3 separate regions of the Homo sapiens genome follow, and regions 1 and 3 are each linked to region 2. The links are contacts of gene promoters, found by promoter capture Hi-C in human tissues and cell types (Jung and others, 2019). All regions are on one chromosome and are shown on one strand. Each heading gives the region's core, a stretch centred on a gene start or on the middle of the fragment in contact. The rest is flanking DNA. Distances are from core to core; before and after follow the strand shown. Region 1 overlaps CFAP107 (cilia and flagella associated protein 107). Region 2 holds the start of AADACL3 (arylacetamide deacetylase like 3). Region 3 overlaps AADACL4 (arylacetamide deacetylase like 4).

Region 1 (2,700 bases), core at 40-2,539, 41 kb before region 2:
ATCCTGGGGATCTGCACTGACTTACAAGGGGGCATAATGTTGATTTCCATGCTTGCCCTCTTGTCTGGAGCAGACAGGGAGGCCTGTGTCTGCTATGGTCTGGAAATGCCGGCTGCACCCAATATTTCAAGTGGTGGCCCCATAAATAAGTCAGATCACAATGCCAGAGGAAGACAAGGGGGGTGGGCACAGACATTAAGCAGGATTCCCAAGATCCACATCACCAGGTACCCCATAGTGTATTTCTAATGCCAAAGTGACTTGGAGGGTTTCCCATCAACAAAGGGAATTGCAGAAGCAGCCTCGTGGCATGGGAGGTAGAGAGGCCAGGAGGAATTTTCTTGCAGTTTCTCTTGATTTGGGGTGTGTCTTTACTGTATGCCTGGGATTTTTCCTTATTAGGGTTTGGGAAAGTGACAGCCACAGAGACAGCTACCTTTGAAAGGAGAGCTTGTTACTTACAGTTCTCAAGAGGAAGGGCACGCCATGCCCTGCAGGGCCACATCAGGAAGAACCAGCATTGGTCTCTGGTCGGGAGGCAGAAGGAACAAGGTGGAGGGGCAGGGCCCAGAGCCTTTACTGTGGTTTCCATGGGAACCATTGGGCGAGGCACGGTGGACAAGTTTAGGACTGGATAGTGTGAATAGTTTTTGTGGGCTCTGGGCCCTAGGGGAGGTCTCTAGTGTCCACTACTTGGCCCTGGGGTGATTTAAGGCAGAGGAAATATTGGCTTGGTATGTGAGAATTAGATAAAGGAGGCGGTTGGGGATACGGGCTTTGGAGTCATTTTTGCCTAACAAGGAAGAGCAAAGTGGGAGTGGGAGATGGAGGAGGAAGCTGTCCTAGGAGAAGGAGGGCAACATGAAGCAAACAGAAGAGCTGACAGAGTTGAAGCAGCTGTGTGGAAGCAGGGTTATGTTCAGGGCCCCATCCCACAAGCAGGCAATTTGAACAGAAACCTTAAAAATAAATATTCAGGGCCAGGTGCCGTGGCTCACGCCTGTAATCCCAGCAGTTTGAGAGGCCAAGGTGGGCAGATTACTTGAGACCAGGAGTTCAGGACTAGCCTGACCAACATGGCAAAACCCTATCTCTACTAAAAATACAAAAAAAATTAGCCAGCTGTGTTGGCACACACCTGTAATCCCAGCTACTTGGAAGGCTGAGGCAAGGAGAATTGTTCCAACCCAGGAGGCTGAGGTTTCAGTGAGCCAACATCACACCACTGCACTCTAGCCTGGGGGACAGAGAGAGACTCTATCTCAAAAAAAAAGAAAAGAAAAAAAGGAAAAAAAAGAAAAAGAAAGAAAAGAAAAGAGAAAAGAAAAGAAAAGAAAAAAAGAAATGAATATTCCATCGTCTGTTCTGTTGGAGATGACAATGCGGGGGGGTGGTGGGTGGAGTTCTTAATTTTAACCAGACTGTATGTTAAACTCTTAGTCAGAGCTTGTAATGGGTCCAAAGGCTATCTAAATGTTCTGCAATGCACTGAAAACTAGGGTCAATACCTCACATACATGGATGGTTAGAGGCTGAGAGCCCCAGATCCTGGGTTCTAACTTTGACTTGTTTATGTTAAAATTCATTTGTGTCTTTAATGCGCACTGCTGGTGAAGCTCAGCAGCCCCAGAGCATCAGCTTGCTTGGAGATGTCAGTGTGGTCTGAGGATGAGGGAGTCATCTGGGGTTGCCAGCACAGAGCTGAAAATCTGTTGCTGCTTATCCTGACATGGATCCCTAAATGCAGAATGCAAATAGGCGACTCTGGCAGATGAGGAATGGAATCTGAGGACACTCTTTGCCTGATTTGCAGAGCAGCAACTTGCTTCATCCCTAACAACAAGCCACACAGCTTTGAAAAAGCCACTTCACACCTCGGGCCGCTGAGCTGAATGAATCTCTTGGGTCCCTCCAAGCACTAAAATGCCCCAATTCCAAAAGATGTCCACTACCTTAATCCATGTCTGTCTGCTGCCACCCTGAGTTGAAGCAGGTATAGTAGGGTCAGGTGGGGTGGGAGTGGGGAGACAGAAATCGCTTATAAGAGCAGCAGGCTGGCAAAAGAAACAACTCAAGGGAACTCCCAGAGTGTGGTGGGGACAGAGCACAGCTGCACACCCAGTGGGTGAGCACCTACAAGCTTGCTCTCCCCAGGCTGTGCCTGCTGGGAGCTACCCACAGGGGTTATTGCAGGAGACGGCTTTCCCTGCTGTTCCTGGAAGGGCCAGGATCTCAGCCTCTGGCACACCAAGTTAATAATTGTCTCCTACATACTCACTAGTGGGATTGCTAAAGATAATAATAGTCTCAAATGCCCCTCCTTGGGTGTGGAGGGCATGTTCTGAGGTTGCAATGCCCTGCTCTCTGCTTCCAACACCTGGAACACCATGATTCCTAGACAAGTGCCCAGTCAATACGGTGTGTGGATGGTGCTTGACTTTTCATGCGAAAGAACAGGAAGCTGGAGCACAGATAATACACAACACTGTTTGTCCAAATACATCACTGCCAGCTGCTTTTGCAGTGCCTTATGTGATTCCTGACTATATGCATCATTTACCTTTGGTTGCTATTTCTTGCATTCTTTGCCTATATTCTGTTGGAAGAGTGTGATCCAGGTGCTGGGATATAGGTTGGAGGGAATGCTACCAGTTTGACATTAAACAGATCATCAGCCCACACAGGTAATTATTGGTTAGT
Region 2 (2,700 bases), core at 110-2,609:
TCCCTCTGTGTCAGGCATTATAATAAGCCTTCTGGAGAGGGTTATTCATGGAGTCTCCACAAAACCCTGTGAAGTAGGAGCAATTTTCCCTACTTTGCAAAAGAGGAAATCGAGTCACTGTATTTGGGAGCCTGGACTACAGAATCTGAGCATCAAGGGTAGGAAAACCTAGGACCCAATCACTGCATCTTATAAAAGCTGACTGGAGATCAGAAGCCTAGAGTTCCCGGGATCTTCTCTTTTAGGTAATAGCTACATTCTTTTGAATAGCATAGAAATTATTTTGAATAGCATAGAAGACACACCTAGGGTGTCTCTTGAGAAGAGGCACTGGCAATTGCTTTTCGTTATGTAAGAAACTTACAAAAAATATTTTGTATATTCAGTTTCTGTCAAGGCACAAGAAAAAGTACAAGAAATCCGTATTGGCAACACCTACACAGTTCCATTTACAGGTATTTTAACAAATTACACCAGAAGCAGAACCAAACTATATTCCCTAGGCAGCTTTCTAGCTCTCAAAAGCAACAACATATTTTTAAAGTCACATTCTGTAATTTTGCTCACCGGCACTAATCTACTCATCCGCTACCCTTTTACTTTGTGGCTTGCTGGCTCTAGCTAACAGGTAGATAGCAGTGGGGGCCCAGAGACTCAGGAAAATTCATTCATATCTTCACAACTTCTGAGAGTGGTGAGTGCTGTGAATAATATGGACACATTTATGGACACGTGAAAGGTACACTTAAAAATGCGAAAGATGGTAAATTTTATATGCATATTTTACCTCAATTTTAAAAATAAAACAAACCAACAACAACAAAAAGAAAGTCAGCGGGAGACACTCAGGTGAATAGAACCAGACTGGTTTTTTCTTTCTGTTAACTGAGAAAGCAGATCATTCTTTGAATTTTGTGAATATTAGCCAGGGCCAGCTTCAGAAACACCCAAAGAGGCTGAGAACCACCTAATAGGGATTATGCACATTTCAGAAGGTCTGATCAGCTGTCACTGCAGGCCCCATGATACCGGTGTTCATTCAGCTAGAAGCTTCCGGTGTGTGATTTTTCCTGCCGCCTTCCTTAATGGTCAGCTGGAGGGGACACATAAAGCACAAAACTCACCCAAGTCAACAGCAGCTGGAAGATGCAATGGAGGACTCTCAGTTTCACAGGGTGGCCAACCGCTGCAGGGATGTGCACAGTGAAAAAATGGCTGCAAATGACCCACAGAGTGACCCCTAGTGAGAACACGCAGGCTGCTGCGAGGAAGATCAGGGCCAGGTCCCACATGCTGCTTCCAGCTCAGAGCGGGCTGAGAGGAAGCTGTGCGCAGTGTAAACCATTTAGGACATGGTTCAGAGCCAGCAGACCTCCTCCACTTATAAGTCACACCTGTCCTCCCCCACCTCCCTGGGTCCCACAAACACTGGCCCAGCCCAGGTGAGTCACAGGCTCAGGTGAGGATGTGGTTCTAGGACAGGGCCCATGCAGAGAAGAAAGTGGCCCATCCAGCCGGATCCAGCCACAAAAGAAAGTTCTAGAGTCCCAGCTTACAATCTGGCACTGCTAACTAGAAATAGTCTTGGATAAGCCACCAAGTCACAATGGACATCATAAACACGATTCCTCCCACCGGCCCTCGGACCTCATCCCCCCACTCTGTGATTCAACTCCAGCTTATCATCCATCCATCAGCCTGTGGAGGATGTCCCAGAGCTGTTGTACGGCAAGCCATTCTCTGTACACCATTCTTCCCCTAGACCTCGGCTAGACTCCATGCCTCCCCTCTTGCTGGTCTCTGCTCAAATGTTGCCTTCTCAGTGAGGCCATCCCTGGCAATCTTATTTAAAATTTAACTCCCGCCAGCATGCCTACGCCCACCTTCCCCAGCCCCACCTTCCCCATCCCCCACCCTTTCCACCCCCCCACCTTCCACATCCCCCACCTTCCTCATCCTCCACCTTCCCCATCCCCCATCTTCCCCATCCCCCACCTTCCTCACCCCCCCACTGCTTGGTTTTTCCCTGTGACCTTTATCATCACCTGCCTCACTTGTCTGTTTATTGTCTGGGAGGACAGGAATTTTCTTTTTGTGCCATTTTATCACCAGAGGCTGGATTGGGGCTTGGTACTTTGTAGGTGCTCAGCAAATGCCTATGGAGTGAGAGAATGAATAGACAGGCTTTGTCCTCTTTCTTGCAAATCTGGGAAACTGTGCTTGCTTTCCTCTTTCTTGCAAATCTGGGAAACTGTGCTTGCTTGCCTTTCCAGGTCAGGTCAGAGGTTGATGTCACCATTGGAAATCTTCCCTAACAACCAAGTCCCACATCTGCAGTAACAATAGTAATATCTGCTGTGTCTCCCGCCTCCCAGCTTGAGTGAGAGAGCAGTGGTTCTCAGACAGGAGAGATTTTACCTCCCAGAAGATATGGGAATATCAGAAACATTTTTGTTGTCCCCACTCAGGAAGGGCCAGAGGGCTGGTTCTAGAGTGTCATAGACAAGAGGCCAGGGATATTGCCAAACATCCTGCAATGCACAAAGACTTATGCAGTCCAGCAAGCCGATAGTATGGTGGTTGAGAAACCCTGCATTTGCAACACTTGAATTTGAATCCTGGCTCTGCCAAATGCCAGCATGCTGATCATGAGCACGTTATGTGCAATCAGCCTCAGTTTCCAAGTTTGTCAAATGGGGA
Region 3 (2,700 bases), core at 9-2,508, 54 kb after region 2:
TCCTTCAGTGTCTCTCAGGGAGTCTCCTCTCAGCTACTGTCTCCCTGCAGCCTCCTGGAAGCCCTTATCTGTGCATGCAGCTCCATGAGCCACTCTATCAAAACTGCCCTGGCCCGTGCACCAGGTCTAAGTATCTGGGATAATGGCATCCTAAGCAATTTCCTACAAGGTATTAATGCAGGTGCTTATTGATACCTTTATGTGCTACCTGTTCAAGGGATGTTTTTATTATCACAAAGGGCTTTGGTGACATAGACTGTAATGGTGGAATTTCAGACACAATGGTAAGCCACCTGGGAGGTATGTTGATGAATACTAGAAAGTGCTGGCTTCCTCAATCTCATCAGAGAGGACCAGAGATGTTAAGTGACTTTGTTTAAGTCACACAGCTATTCTGTCTACCAAAGCCTAGGGGCAGCTAAGGTTTGAGGAGGTCCATTGTAGAGGTAGAATCTAAAAAGGCAGATTTTAATTTCTCTCGCTGGCCTTCTCTAAACTCTTTCCCAGTGATGTGAGATCTCTTGAGCCAAGAACCAGAATCCTAGTGAGTAGCCCCTACTGCCCCCTCCATCCACTCTAAAGATGCCTCCATCTCCCTTTTGTTTTTATAGGACCAGGGTTGTATCTTAAGACACTCTCAACACTAGTTCCTGTAGGACCAGAAGCTTAGTTAGTTTTTAACAATGCAATAAGCACCTGCAGAACCATCACCCCAAACAACAGCCAGAATCTTGCGCATCACCTTCACCAACCCCACCATCATGCCATTTTGCTTCTCCTCCAACTTAATGAATGGTTACCCTGAATCCTGTATCTATCATTTTTTTCTTTCTATGTTACATTGTCTTGTTACGTCTATGTGTTTTCCTCGAAAGTATTCTTTTGGTTTTAACGTTTTTACCTTTGCAAAATGAGTATCAGGCTTTATGTAATTTTTTGAACATTTTTCACTTAGTTTTATACTACTAAGATTCATTTGCAACATGGTACACCTTTCTAGTTCATTTATTTAAATGGCTGTGGAAAAATCCATAATATCTTCTTGGCTATGTAATCTAACAGTTGCTGTGCTGAGGTTTATTCATGCACGCCCCCGTTCATGGACATGTGGGTTGCTTTCAGGTTTTTGCTCTTTCGAGCACTGCTGCGCCTGTCTCTGTGGATGCATGTCCAAGAGTTGCCTCTTGGGAGTTAGGGCCTCTCTGATCTACAAATCACCCATGAACTTACCCTATCTCCTCTCACCCCTGTGGAACCTACCAGCTGTCTCCAGAAACTCACCCAATCATCAGAAGTACAGATTCAGTCTCCCGGGCCAGATAATTGCACAGGCCATGGTAACAATCTGCAAGACAAAAACACTCAGAGCAGCAGCGCATGAGTAGGACCCAAACCATCTCACCACAGCCCCCAGGAAGAGCCAGCTGACAGTCTTGGTGTGGGGTGTGGCATCCTCTCTGTTTCTATCCTTGCCTCCTCTGCCTGGACAGAGCCAAAAAACCAGGCCAAATCATACATCTGTCCCCAGCCTCCTGAATTTTGGGACTCAAATTCACCTTGGGGCTCACTTTCTGCAACATTTATTTTACAGTGGAGGAAACCAGGAACCTGGAAATCTTAGTGATCTGAAATGGAAAAAAACCAAGGGAAGTTAGGCATGCCTGCCCTAGGATGTTAATAATAACTATAAATTTATATTGATCAAGAAATAAACAAGGGTTGGACGGGATGTTTCTATGAGTAGAGTGGTGCATATGAAGTTCTCAGAGGCAGGTCCGTCAATATGAGTACGTAGAACATACTAGCACAGTGGCAGACACAGAATCACTGCCAAATACACTTCTAATGCAGTCATTCTCAACTTCAGCCATACATAGAGGTACCAGGGAGTTTTTACAAGTCCTCAGGCCCAGGCTAAACCTCAAACCAATTAAATCAGAATCTCTAGCATGGAAGCTCAGGCATCAGGATTTTCTAAATCACACCAGGTAATTCCAGGGTTTGGAGGAGGTTGCTGAAGTGGGTGCATGCCTCATTAATGCTCTTTGAGGGAGATGACAATGGTTCTGAATGGAGCCAGAGGCACAGAGGGGTCTAAATTGAGTCGGAGCAGTCAGCCCCTAAGTTGAAGTTTCCATACTAGTAGGTCTCAGCCCTGGCTGCACATTGCAGTCATCTGATGAGCTGTTTAAAAATACTGATGCCCTGGTTCATGCCTGTAATCCCAGCACTTTGGGAGGCCGAGGTGGGTGGATCACGAGGTCAGGAGTTTGAGACCAACCTGGCCAGTATGGTGAAACCCCGTCTCTACTAAAAATACAAAAATTAGCCGGGCATGGTGGCACATGCCTGTAGTCCCAGCTACTCAGGAGGCTGAGGCAGAAGAATTGCTTGAACCCGGGAGGCGGAGGTTGCAGTGAGCCGAGATCATGCCACTGCACTCCAGCCTGGGTGACAGAGCAAGACTCCATCTCAAAAAAAAAATGCTGATGCCTGGGTCCTGCCCACTTAGCCTGGGGTATGATCTGGGTATGAATATGACTTTAAAATTCGCAGGTGATTTTAAGGCCCAGACAAAGTAAAGACCTCTGCTAGACACCCGGGGCCAACCTGGGTGTCATCTTCCCGATGTAACCCAGACATTCCTCCTTTCCCAAGCATGTCAGGTAGTCCCTGTTTCAGAGCTTTGCACTTACTGTC

What was found. Contacts are between HindIII fragments. The study calls those that stand out against the background at their distance.
Region 1: a contact is called between a fragment that was not itself captured here and the fragment with the promoter of AADACL3 in region 2, in 1 of the 25 tissues and cell types used here (thymus).
Region 3: a contact is called between a fragment that was not itself captured here and the fragment with the promoter of AADACL3 in region 2, in 1 of the 25 tissues and cell types used here (thymus).

The regions. Positions count from the first base shown.
Region 1 is chr1:12,755,964-12,758,663 of GRCh38, reverse strand. The region is part of intron 2 of CFAP107 (cilia and flagella associated protein 107); the gene reads right to left. Among named protein-coding and RNA genes, the nearest start is that of CFAP107, 11 kb to the right of the region's middle. The HindIII fragment of the contact is 5,337 bases long and covers 1-2,700 here.
Region 2 is chr1:12,714,769-12,717,468 of GRCh38, reverse strand. It overlaps AADACL3 (arylacetamide deacetylase like 3), which reads right to left and starts at 1,359. Exons shown (of 4, transcript NM_001103170.3): 1 at 1,125-1,359. The coding sequence starts at 1,292. RefSeq lists an enhancer at 685-1,884. The HindIII fragment of the contact is 8,121 bases long and covers 1-2,700 here.
Region 3 is chr1:12,660,436-12,663,135 of GRCh38, reverse strand. AADACL4 (arylacetamide deacetylase like 4) reads right to left here. Exons shown (of 4, transcript NM_001013630.2): 3 at 1,282-1,345. Among named protein-coding and RNA genes, the nearest start is that of AADACL4, 18 kb to the right of the region's middle. The HindIII fragment of the contact is 4,685 bases long and covers 1-2,700 here.